Linked DNA regions of Homo sapiens: regions 2 and 3 are each linked to region 1. Evidence: promoter capture Hi-C in 16 types of primary human blood cells and fetal thymus (Javierre and others, 2016). All regions are on one chromosome and are shown on one strand. Each heading gives the region's core, a stretch centred on a gene start or on the middle of the fragment in contact. The rest is flanking DNA. Distances are from core to core; before and after follow the strand shown.

Region 1 (4,205 bases), core at 1,441-3,940:
ACGTCTCCAAAGCAGGCGATGGGAAAGAAAGAAGGAGTCTCCAAAATGAGCACCCCTGAACCTCCCTCAGATGCAGCCTGGCCCAGAGACAAACCTCGAGACGGGACTCGGACCCAAAATCCTCCTCCGAGGTCGTTGCAGGGGACAAACCTCCCTGCCTCAGAGACAACTCTGGGGAAGAGGCAGCCAACCCACTCGCTCACCTAAAAATCCCTGGCAGGGGCAAAACTAACACCCAGGGACACATGGACCAATGGCTGCCCATGGCCAGGGCTGGGATGAAGGCCACGGAGCAGGGAGCACCCCGGCTCATGAACACGGGACACCTCAGCATCAGAACTCATCAAATGGACACGAAAGGGGTGTATTTCATGGAATGCAAATCACACCTCAATAAGGTTGACTTAAAAACTAACAGGCGGGCCAGGCGCGGTGGCTCACGCCTGTAATCCCAACACTTTGGGAGGTCAAGGTGGGTGGATCATGAGGTCAAGGGATCGAGACCATCCTGGTCAACATGGTGAAACCTGGTCTCTACTAAAAATACAAAAATTACCTGGGTATGGTGGCAGGCACCTGTAGTCCCAGCTACTCAGGAGGCTGAGGCAGGAGAATCACTTGAACCCAGGAGTCAGAGGCTGCAGTGAGCCGAGATTGTACCACTGCACTCCAGCCTGGCGACAGAGCAAGACTCTGTCTCAAAAAAAAACAAAACAAAACTAACAGGCAAAGAAGCAGGTACGTGATTACTCAGTGACCAGAGTCAGAAGCAGAGTTCTTGACACCAGCTGCCTGGACTCCTTCTCTCCACCCCTCCACCAGGCCCTCTTCATAGGAAGAGCAGCAGACACCTTCCAATCTGCCCGGACAGAGAGGCTGGGATCACCCAGAAGAAAGAAAAATTTCAGACGTTTTTGGCCTTAGAATGCAGCTGTGAGACCTCATTTCCTCTGAAAACTCACCCTCCCAATTATGTCTGCCTTCAACAACTGTTAAAATTAATTTCAATTTCCTTAGCCTAATACAAATACAAAGAGGAAGTTGGGGAGAGGAACAAGACAGTCTCCAGAGAGAGTGACTTCCTATTTAAATAAGGCAGGCCAGGCGCCGTGGCTCAGCTTGTAATCCCAGCCCTTTCAGAGGCCCAGTGGGGAGGGATGCTTGAGGCCAGGAGTTCGAGACCAGCCTGGGCAACAAAGTGAGACAACCCCCCACTCCCCTGTCTCTACAAAAAATACAAAAAAAACAATTAGCCGGGTGTGGTGGTGCGCCTGTGGTCCCAGCTACTCGGGAGGCTGAGATGGGAGGATCACCTGAGCCCAGGAACGTGGAGACTGCGGTGAGCTGTCATGTCATCATGCACTTCAGCCTGGACCACAGAGCAAGACCCTCTCTCAAAACAACAAAGAAAAACTATACAACATGAAAAAGGAGGGCAGGAACGGCTCCTCTCCACAGGCAGGCCTAGGCCAGTGCCCAGCTGAGAGGTCCCTGCTAAGTACCCATGTGGAACATCATGCAAGGAGGCGGATCTGGAGATTTTCTCTGAGATTCTGTGCTCCAACCCCACCGTTTTTCTGGAAAAATAATCTCACCCTAAGAAGTGACTTGCCTGCAGCCACGTACCCCATCCACGGCAGAGTGGGACGCTGGCCCAGCAGGGAGGTGTGGACCCTGCTGCTCCCCCGGCCTCAACCAGAAACCCCAAAGGAGAAACCCTCTTCTCCGGGTGCAGCCCAGGAAAGCAAGCCCCCAACTTACCAGAAGAGTATCCGCAAAATGTTGGCCACCAGCAGCACCAGGCACACGTAGGTGGAGAAGCCGTCGGCGTTCTGCGTCCTGCGAATGTCCCGATACTGCGGGACGTAGGGCACCACCCCTCCGAAGACCATGGCCGCGGCCGCGCCCCAGGACACCAGCTGGTGCAGTGGCACCAGGAGCCAGTCCAGGCCCTCGGCCTCCATCGCAGCGCCCGCCTGGCCGAGGCTGTCACGGGCTCCGCGCCCCGCGGGCCACCGGCCGCCTGCTCATCGCCGCTCCGCGCGCTCCTGCGGCCTCGGGGCCTGCGGGGAGCGGGGAGCTGCTCGAGTTCCGCCCAGGGAGGCTGGGGCGGCGCGCACGGACCCGACCCGACCCGCGCCAGCCGCAGGACCCGAGGCAGAGCGGGGGCGACCGGGGCCCGGGGCGCGCGAGGAGCGGCCCCTGCCTGGGACGGGGGGGTGTCTGGGGGTCCCGAGACGCTCCCGGAGGGGGCTGGGGAGGGGTCCCAGCGCCGGGGTCGAGGACGGGCGAAGCCCCTGGGGTCACCGCCCGGGTGCGCTTAGCCGGCGGGGGTCCACGCGCGCCCCGGGATGGGGTGGGGGAGGGGGCGCAGGGCCCAGGATCGGGGCGCACTGTTCGGGGGAGGGTCACAGGGCCTAGCATGGGGGCGCACGGCTCGGGGGAAGGGGGCGCAGGCCCAGGATGGGGGCGCACGGCTCGCGGGAGGAGGTGCCGGGCCGGGGACCCCACAGGACCAAGCCAGGGGACTGAAGGCCGCGACCAACTGCCCCGGCCCTGCGTCCTCGGCCGCCCTAGGCCGCCCCCCGAGGACCCCGCGCCGCCCCCGCGCTCCTTACCTGCGCCCCCAGCCCCGCGCCCAGCGCCCCGCGTCCCCGCGCCGCTGACCCGCGCGCGTCTCGGCGTCAGTCCGCTCAGGCGCCGGGAAACCCCGCCCCGTGACGTCACAATGCCGGGCCCCGCCCACGCCGGAGCTGCGCGGAGGCGCCGCGGTGTCCTAGAGCGCGCTGGGCAGGGCGGGCGCAGGCGGGGCCGGGAGCCGGGGCTGTCGGGGCGGTGGGGGCGCGTGGCTCCTCCCGCCCGGTCGGGAAATACCAGCCGGGCGGGGCCGGTCCCTCAGGCCTGGCGCCCACGTTAACCCGTCTCCAGCTGTCCCGGCGCGCGGCCATCCAAGCGGAGGGCGTCGTCCTGGAGGGCCGGGGGCGCGGGGTCCGGACGCCCCTCTCACGCGTGTCCTGAATGCGGGCCACCCGGGGACGAGTCTCGTCCAGCTCTGTCCTGACCCAGGAGACCCGGGGACCCGGCTCGGAGTTTGCAGCGCCCAGAGGCGGCCGGGGTCTCGGGAAACGGAGCGCCCCCCGCGGGTCTCCGCTCCGATGCAAGTGCCCCACGAGCAGATGCGCCGGGGCCGTCGCCGGGGGGCCGGCTGGACGCGCGGCCGTCACCGTGGCCATTGTCATTATCGTGGTTGCGGCCACGGTCGCTGTCGCTGCAGAAACGCGGGGCGGCCTCTCCCCATCCCCGTGTAGTTCTCCGGGCTGAACCGTTGGGCGCCTATTTGCAGAAAAGGCAGCTCCTGAGCCTCAAGACAGACTCGGGGGCCAGGCGTGCGTGAAGCCCGGGCCCTGCTGCCGGCCTCGCGTGCCAAGCCAACTCCGAGCCCCACACCCGCCCGCGGGGAGCTGCCCTCGCCCGGGACCCTCTTGGCCCGCGCGGGTGAGGACTGAGGGCGAGGGGCGCGTGGATGAGGGGCGCGCGGGTGAAGAGTGAGGGGAGCGCGGGTGAAGTGTGAGGGGAGCGCGGGTGAGGGGTGAGGGGCGCGCGGGTGAGGGGTGAGGGGAGCGCGGGTGAGGGGTGAGGGGTGAGGGGAGCGTGGGTGAGGGGTGAGGGGTGAGTGATGCGCGAGTGAAGGGTGAGGGGCGCCTGGGTGAGGGGTGAGGGGTGAGGGGCGCGCCGGTGAAGGGTGAGGGGAGCGTGGGTGAGGGGTGAAGGGTGCGCGAGTGATGGGCGGGTGTGTGTAGGGTGAGGGACGCGTGGGTGAGGGGCGCGGGGGTGTGAGGCGAGGGGTGCACGGGTAAGGGGCGAGCCGCGAGGTTGAGGGGTCCACGCTGAGGGTTGCTTCCCCGCCAGCCGCGGCCTCTTCTCCACGATCCCGGCCCCCTGCCCCCTGCCCCCTGCCCGACTGGTTTTATGGGGGATCATAAGGACAGTCACCACCTAACTAGGAGCAAATCCCCAACAATCGAGGAAACAGGGCGCTCCTGCCTTGCGCCCCCAGGCTGGCGTTGGAACTTCTTTAGAGCCAGCGCTGCGGAGCCCCAGCACCAGGAACGTAGAGGTGAGTAAAAGGCACAGCAGGAAGCCTGGGAGAGAAAAAGCAGCTGCCCCTGCTCAGCCGCGCCCTAGCCTGAGCCCAGCAGCCTTTG
Region 2 (4,006 bases), core at 895-3,394, 140 kb before region 1:
GTAAGCAAAATAGTGTGGTATTGGCATAAGGAGAGACATATTGATCAATGGAATACAATTGCAATTCTAGAAATAAACCTATACATCTGTGGTCAGCTGACTTTTGATGAGAGTGCCAAGACCATGCAATGGAGAAAGAATAGTCTCTTCAGCAGATGGTGCTGGGACAACTGGATTCCACATACAAGAGAATAAATATCCAAAATGTCCATGATACAATAAAAAAAAGTCACTCACCAAGAACCAAGAAAACCAGAACATAAATGAAAAAAGACAATTAACAGACACCAACATCAAGCTGAATCAGATGTTGGTTTATATGACTACTATTTTAAAGTAGGCTTCACCAATCAACGATGGGTTTAAAATGCTTCACCAATCATGTATTTTCCTGAAACAAATGAAGGAATAGAAAATCTTAGCAAAGAAATGAAAGATATAAAAAAGAAAAAGATGAAATCACGTAACTGAAATATATAACAACAGTTTTTTAAACTCTGACTGCATGGGGTGAACAGTAAAGGGGAGATCACGCTGGATGGAATTAGTGAACCTGACCCACAGAAATTACCCAACATCAACAGAAGAGAGAAGAAAGACTGGAAAGCATGGGCAGAGAGTCACAGGGAGTTGTGTGACGATAACAAAAGTATTAATACTTGTATCATCAGGCCCCAGAAAGAGAGGAGAAAGAGTGGGGCTGAAAAAGTATTTGAAGAAAGAATGCCCCCAAAACCTCCCAGATTTGGCAAAAGACATAGATCTACAGATTCAGGAAGCAGAAAGACAACAGGAAAATCTCCAGATACTTGGAAATTAAATAACATGCCTTAAAATTATCTATGGGTCGAAGAGGAAGTCTCAAAGGGAAATTCGAAACACATAGAACTGAATGAAAGTGAAAATACAGCAGAGCAGCATATGTGAGATACGGTCGGAACAGTTCTTGGGGGAGGTTTATAACATCCAGTGCTTAGATTAGAAGAGACAAAAGGTCTCAAAGTAATATTAATAATATGTTACAAAATTGAATTAATTCTTAAAAAGTCCTGAAAAATCTCCAGACCTGGTGATTTTACTGGAAAATTCTACCAAATACTTAAAGAAGAATTCATTCTACCAAACATTCAAAGAAGAGAAGGGAACCCTTCCTCACTCAATGTGAGGTTTAATGAGGTCAGCCATACCTGGCGACCACATTAAACAAAGACATTACAAAAAAAGAAAACTAGAAAACTATAAGCCGGGCCTGGTGGCTCACGCCTGTAATCCCATCACTTTGGGAGGCCAAGACAGGCAGATCACTTGAGGCCCAGAGTTCAAGACCAAGCTGGCCAACATGGCAAAACCTCATCTTTACTAAAAATACAAAAATTAGCCAGGCGTGGTGGTGCGCACCTGTACTCCCAGCTACTCAGGAGGCTGAGGCGCGAGAATCACTTGAACCCAGGAGGCAGAGGTTGCACTGAGCCGAGATCGCACCACTGTAGTCCAGTCTGGGTGATAGAGCGAGACTCTGTCTCAAAAATAAGTAAATAGGCCAGGCACAGTGGCTCATGCCTGTAATTCCAGCACTTTGGGAGGCCAAGGAGGGCGGATCACGAGGTCAGGAGTTTGAGACCAGCCTGGCCAACATGGTGAAACCTCATCTCTCCTAAAAATACAAAATTAGCCGAGTGTGGTGGCGGGTGCCTGTAATCCCAGCTACTCACAAGGCTGAGGCAGGAGAATCGCTTGAACCCAGGAGGGGGAGGTTGCGGTGAGCCGAGATCGCGCCATTGGAATCCAGCCTGGGTGAGAGGGTGAGACTCCATCTTAAAATAAATGAATAAATAAATTTAAAAATAAAAAAAGAAAGCTATAGACCAGTATCTTTCACGAATTCACATGCAGAACCCTCAACAAAATATTAGGAAATTGAATCCAGCAATGAATAAAGTTGCTGCACCAAATGAGATTTAATCCAGGCACACAAGTCTGGTTCAACATTCTGAGTCAAACACTGTACTCCACCATATCAACAGAAGAGATATACAATCATATTAATTGATGCAGAAAAGCTTTTGACAAATCCAACATCTACTCACAATAAAAACTCCCAGAAAACTAGAATTAGATCCTCAATTTGATAAAGAACATCCACAAAAAATCCACATCTGAAGCCTTTTCAAGAAATGTTGTAGGTGCAGTTGGTCATCCATGGGTGGGGTAGCGTGGAGGGAGGATGGAGAAGCTTATCCTAAACCTTCCACCTGCTACACAAATCAACTAAAAGCAGATCACAGACTTAAATGTAAACATAAAACCATAAGAGTTCTAGAAAAGATAGGGGAAATTCACTGGGACACAGGGGTAGGCAAAGCCTTCTTAGACTTGACAACAAAGGTATAACCCATAAAAAGTAAACTTGATAAATTGGACCTCATCAAAATTAAAAACTGCCCTGCAAAAGACATTTTAAGAGCATGAAGCGTAAAACTACAGAATGGGAGAAAATATTTGCAAACCACGTATTCACTAAAGGACCAAAGTTTGGAATATATAAAGAACTCTCTAAATCACCGGTAAACAAATATTCAAAACATGTCCAGTTAGACATGTACAAGATGTGTGCACAGACCTTTCACTGTGGAAAACTCATGGAAGGCAGACAAGCAGGTGCAAAGACACCTAGCACCGTCAGCCTTTAGGGAAATGCAAATTAAAACCACTGTGCCCCTACACATCTACCAGAGTGGCTGAAATCAATAGAAAATATTGACAACACCGAATGCTGACAAAGATGCAGAGAAATGACCTTTCATGCCTTGCTGGGAATGTAAAATGGCTCAGCAACTCTAGGAAACAGTTTGGCTGTTTCTGATAAAACTAAACATGTCACTCCCGTATGACCCAGCAATTGTGATCTTGGGCATTTATCCCAGAGAAATGGAAAATATATTCACATAAAAACCTAGACACAAATTTTCATAATGTTATTACTAACAACCAAAAACTGGAATTGTCCCAGAGACCCTTCCACAGGTGATAGTTCGACGATCACACTTCTGTACTGCGGAATACTCTCAGTAGAAAGGGATGGGTTATCGGTACACACAGCAGCTTGGATGAATATCCAGGGAATTATGCTGTGTGAAGAAAGCCAGTCTCAAAATAATCAGACTCTGCCATTCCATTTGCACGGCATTCTTGAAAGGACAAGCTTATAGAGATGAGAGCAGATTAGGGGCTGCCAGGGTTTTACAGAGCTGGGAGGGGGTGGCAGGAGTGACACTGCCTGCGTGGGTCAGCATCAATCCTGGCGGTGAGATTGTACTGCAGTTTTGCAAGAGGCCACCATTGGCGGAAACTGGGTAAAGGGTACAGGGGATCCCTTTGTATTGTTTCTTGCAACTGCATGTTAATCTATTATTAATCTCAAAAGGTTTAATTCTAAAAATGTATATGTATATGCATAAAGGCTTAGTAGAAGTTCTGGGTAAATAAGTCACCTTAAAAGTAGTTACCTGTGGGGAGCGGATTTGTTTTGAAGGGGGAAGGGTGAGGATGGCCATGTGCTTTTACCCTGTGTGCTTTTTTTTTTTTTTACGATGAAAATACATTTATGTTTTAGTAGTGTAATTTCAAATATAAACAGATTAGGGTCAGGAAGTCTTCCCAGAGAAAATGAATTTAATATGCAAAAGGATGTTCTTTGCAGTATTCATGAACTAGCATGGAACTTTAGTATCAAAATAATGTCTGACAATAGGGAAATGTAAGTAAATTAAGATCCATCCTCAGGGTGAGGTATTACGCAGTTTCCACCAAAATGCTTATATCCAGGCACAGTGGCTCACGCCTGTAATCCTAACAATTTGGTAGGCAGAGGTGGTAGGATTGCTTGAACCCAGGAGTTCAAGATCAGCCTGGGCAACATAGTGAGATGCTCTCTCTACAAAAAAATAGAAAAAATTATCTGGGTGTGATAGCAGACACCTGTAGTCCAGTTACTTGGGAGGCTGAG
Region 3 (4,080 bases), core at 403-2,902, 190 kb before region 1:
AAGGGATACACATTCACTAGAATCTGTGCTCCAAGTATGCACACAGCCATTCTGCTTACCAGTTTCAGTTCAGTAGTCAGTACATCACGAGATATTCAGCACTTCATTATAACATAGGCTTTGTGTCAGACAAGTTTGCCCAACTGTCGGCTAACATAGGGTTCTGACACGTTTAATCTGGGCTGGGCTAAGCCATGATGTTTGGAGAGTTAGTTAAGTGTTCAAATGCATTTCCAACTTGGGACACTTGGGTTTATCAGGACAGGACCCCATGGTAAGTAGGGAGGGAACCTGTTCTTTCTGACTTCTCGTGTGCTTCAGGGTTTTGTCCGTGCACACAGCCGTGGTCCATCACTGCCCTCCGTGCTCAGCGATGTTTCTGTTCCACAGCTTGTCCTCCTTTTGCCGGACGTTTGTGTTGCTTATGGCTCTTTTTATGCAAATGCAGCTGCCTGAGCATTCTTTACCTATGTCCTGATCCATTCGTGAATGAGCCTCTGGGGTTAAATACCCACAAGTAGAGTTACTGGGACTGGGGGGCACCCCAGTGCAGTTTTCCTGGATAGTGTGGAATTAGTTTCTCAGTCATTGATGCTGGTTTGCACTCCCTCCCAGTCAGTGATGCTGCTTCACACTCCCAGTCAGTGATGCTGGTTCACACTCCCTGCCAGAGATGCTGGTTCACACTCCCAGTCAGTGATGCTGGTTCACACTCACTCCCAGTCATTGATGCTGGTTCACACTCTCTCCTAGTCAGTGATGCTGCTTCACACTCCCTCCCAGTCAGTGATACTGGTTCACACTCACTCCCAGTCATTGATGCTGGTTCACACTCTCTCCCAGTCAGTGATGCTACTTCACACTCCCTCCCAGTCAGTGATGCTGGTTCACACTCCCAGTCAGTGATGCTGGTTCACACTCCCAGTCAGAGATGCTGGTTCACACTCACTCCCAGTCATTGATGCTGGTTCACACTCCCTCCCAGTCAGTGATGCTGCTTCACACTCCTGCCCAGTCAGTGATGCTGGTTGACACTCCCTCCCAGTCAGTGATGCTGGTTCACACTCCCCACACCTGGTCAGCCAAAAACGGCTTTTCCAACAACAGAAGGACCTGAAGGGAAACCTCACAGCAAGCCCCTCCCAGGTGGGCAAAGTTATGTCTTCAGAGAGAATATTCTAAACCCTCGGAGCTGCAGAGCCAGAAAGCTGGGGCCCAGGCAGTGTCGTCAGCCTTCCCAAAGTGTCTGCACGAGCTCATTCCCACAGTTGATGGAATGACATTTAACTGTCACCTTTCTCTAGAAGTGACTGCAAAGCACAGAGATTGGTCTTCAGGCTCCTGGACAGTTCCCTGCAGGGCCTGGTGGGTGGTGACCGTGTGGCTGGCAGCTCGCAGTTGATGGAGACTGTGTAGCCATCAGATATGATGTCAACACAAGACACCAGTTTTTAGGAAACAGCCTCCAAGGTACTGCTTGATGCATTCACCATGGGTCGTGTGCCTGGCCAGCCTCTACCTGCCTGGGAAGCTCCTTCACCTGGGGATGCCTCTGCTGGTTTTCCTGAGACACAGCCCTTGGGGGCACTGATGGTCCCCGGGTGACCAGGGTCACCAGCAGCGTAGTCCCAACCCCATGTGTGAGTGACCAGGGTCACCAGCAGCGTAGCCCCAACCCCATGTGTGAGTGACCAGGGTCACCAGCAGCATAGCCCCAACCCCATGTGTGAGTGACCAGGGTCACCAGCAGCATAGCCCCAACCCCATGTGTGAGTGACCAGGGTCACCAGCAGCGTAGCCCCAACCCCATGTGTGAGTGACCAGGGTCACCAGCAGCGTAGTCCCAACCCCATGTGTGAGTGACCAGGGTCACCAGCAGCGTAGTCCCAACCCCATGTGTGAGTGACCAGGGTCACCAGCAGCGTAGCCCCAACCCCATGTGTGAGTGACCAGGGTCACCAGCAGCGTAGTCCCAACCCCATGTGTGAGTGACCAGGGTCACCAGCAGCGTAGCCCCAACCCCATGTGTGAGTGACCACGGTCACCAGCAGTGTAGCCCCAACCCCATGTGTGAGTGACCAGGGTCACCAGCAGCATAGCCCCAACCCCATGTGTGAGTGACCAGGGTCACCAGCAGCGTAGTCCCAACCCCATGTGTGAGTGACCAGGGTCACCAGCAGCGTAGTCCCAACCCCATGTGTGAGTGACCAGGGTCACCAGCAGCATAGCCCCAACCCCATGTATGAGTGACCAGGGTCACCAGCAGCGTAGTCCCAACCCCATGTGTGAGTGACCAGGGTCACCAGCAGCGTAGTCCCAACCCCATGTGTGAGTGACCAGGGTCACCAGCAGCGTAGCCCCAACCCCATGTGTGAGTGACCAGGGTCACCAGCAGCATAGCCCCAACCCCATGTGTGAGTGACCAGGGTCACCAGCAGCGTAGTCCCAACCCCATGTGTGAGTGACCAGGGTCACCAGCAGCATAGCCCCAACCCCATGTGTGAGTGACCAGGGTCACCAGCAGCGTAGTCCCAACCCCATGTGTGAGTGACCAGGGTCACCAGCAGCGTAGCCCCAACCCCATGTGTGAGTGACCAGGGTCACCAGCAGCGTAGCCCCAACCCCATGTGTGAGTGACCAGGGTCACCAGCAGCGTAGCCCCAACCCCATGTGTGAGTGACCAGGGTCACCAGCAGCATAGCCCCAACCCCATGTGTGAGTGACCAGGGTCACCAGCAGCATAGCCCCAACCCCATGTGTGAGTGACCAGGGTCACCAGCAGCGTACCCTGGCCCCATGTGTGAAAGTGTGGTTTTGTCCTAGGTCCAGGAAACCCATTTCCAGCCCCGTAGGGTGGATCCCAGGGCTCTCTGAGTCAGAGCTGCCCAGATGGCCAGGACTGCTTCTTTGGAAAAGCAACAATGATTAGTGAGATGATGCAGAGGGCAGATGCCACGTCTGCCTTCAGCCCTGGTGTTGGGAACGTGGCTGCTGTGCCCACACCCCAGGCTTCTGAAGAGAGGAGAGCTGGGCGTTGGCACCATTTGAGCCCCTAGGATTATTTTTTGTTGTTAGAACTAGTTTCTAAAGATTCATTTTTAACATTTTGCAGTGAAGAAGGAAGGAAAGATGTCAGTGAGCGCCCCGTGAACAGTCAGCTCGTGACACCTGCCGGGGATAACGAAGACGCTGTCAGCAGCTGGAGGCTGAGCTCTAAGCAGTGCTTTCCCAAGGAGGCCTGGAAAGGCAGTTGTCTGAAAGTCAGAAACTGGCTCAGCCCGAACTGACAGAATGACTTACAGATGAGCTGCCTTGGCCAGAGATAAACATCCCTGTGGTTGGGTTATGTATTTGTCAAGGACAATTAAGAGGCACTTTCTTTAAAAAGCACAATTCTCCAGCAACCTCGAGATCTTTGGAAGAGTCGGGAAAGTGCAGTGATGAGTTCTGCTGCACCCTGAGACAGACAGAAGGCGACGACCGGACAGAAAATGCCTTGAAAGTCATTCAGATGTCACCTCAAACCTCCCTTCATTCCAGGCAGTTCCCGGAAGATGCATTTTGATCATCGAAGGCGTGAGTCTGCTGCATGCGTTGCCTTGACACCTGGCGCCAACGCTGCTGTTTCTTTTCAGGTGAGAGCTCAATTAGGCTGAAAGCTGTACCCACCTCTCCTGCACTTCCCAGGCCTAGAGCAGCAGGGTGCCTGCAGCGGGGCCTCTCGTGCTTGAGGGAGGCACAGGTCCGGAAAAGGAGCCTGACCCGCCCCAGGAGGGCCCTGTGCTGCCCGAGCTGAGACCCCAGGACACCCCTCCCAGGCCCGGACCCTGCGGCCCTCATGGAACTCACCAGTGTGCACGCTGGGAATAAACGTGGATGTGCAGCCTGGAACCTTCGTCTCTAGGTCAAGAGGGAACCTAGGGTGTGTTTCCCTCCTCTTCCGGCTTAGCTGGGGGTTGGAAGGGGCTGTTGGTCCTTCTCTCTTCTCCCCATTGTTATCCTGTTGGTCCACTGCAGCCTGGGCTCCTGGAGAGAAGAGCGCAGCCCAGCCTCCTCTTCTGCTCCCGTTGCCCACCCATA

Evidence for each region. The method cuts DNA at HindIII sites, captures the fragments that hold promoters and counts their contacts. A CHiCAGO score of 5 or more calls a contact.
Region 2: a fragment that was not itself captured here is called in contact with the fragment with the promoter of SLC66A2 in region 1 in 2 of 17 cell types (M2 macrophages and total B cells); the score reaches 6.1 in M2 macrophages.
Region 3: a contact is called between a fragment that was not itself captured here and the fragment with the promoter of SLC66A2 in region 1, in 1 of 17 cell types (neutrophils). The highest score is 5.4, in neutrophils.

What each region holds. Positions count from the first base shown.
Region 1 is chr18:79,948,963-79,953,167 of GRCh38, forward strand. SLC66A2 (solute carrier family 66 member 2) reads right to left here and starts at 2,691. Exons shown (of 6, transcript NM_025078.5): 1 at 2,619-2,691; 2 at 1,762-2,063. The coding sequence starts at 1,964. It overlaps LOC124904336 (a long non-coding RNA gene), which reads left to right and starts at 3,847. Exons shown (of 2, transcript XR_007066429.1): 1 at 3,847-4,117. RefSeq lists silencers at 1,973-2,092, 2,133-2,212, 2,533-3,042, 3,173-3,222. The HindIII fragment of the contact is 12,677 bases long and covers 1-4,205 here.
Region 2 is chr18:79,811,338-79,815,343 of GRCh38, forward strand. All of the region lies in intron 1 of KCNG2 (potassium voltage-gated channel modifier subfamily G member 2), which reads left to right. Among named protein-coding and RNA genes, the nearest start is that of KCNG2, 15 kb to the left of the region's middle. The HindIII fragment of the contact is 173 bases long and covers 2,059-2,231 here.
Region 3 is chr18:79,762,804-79,766,883 of GRCh38, forward strand. No RefSeq gene overlaps it. Among named protein-coding and RNA genes, the nearest start is that of KCNG2, 33 kb to the right of the region's middle. The HindIII fragment of the contact is 4,886 bases long and covers 1-4,080 here.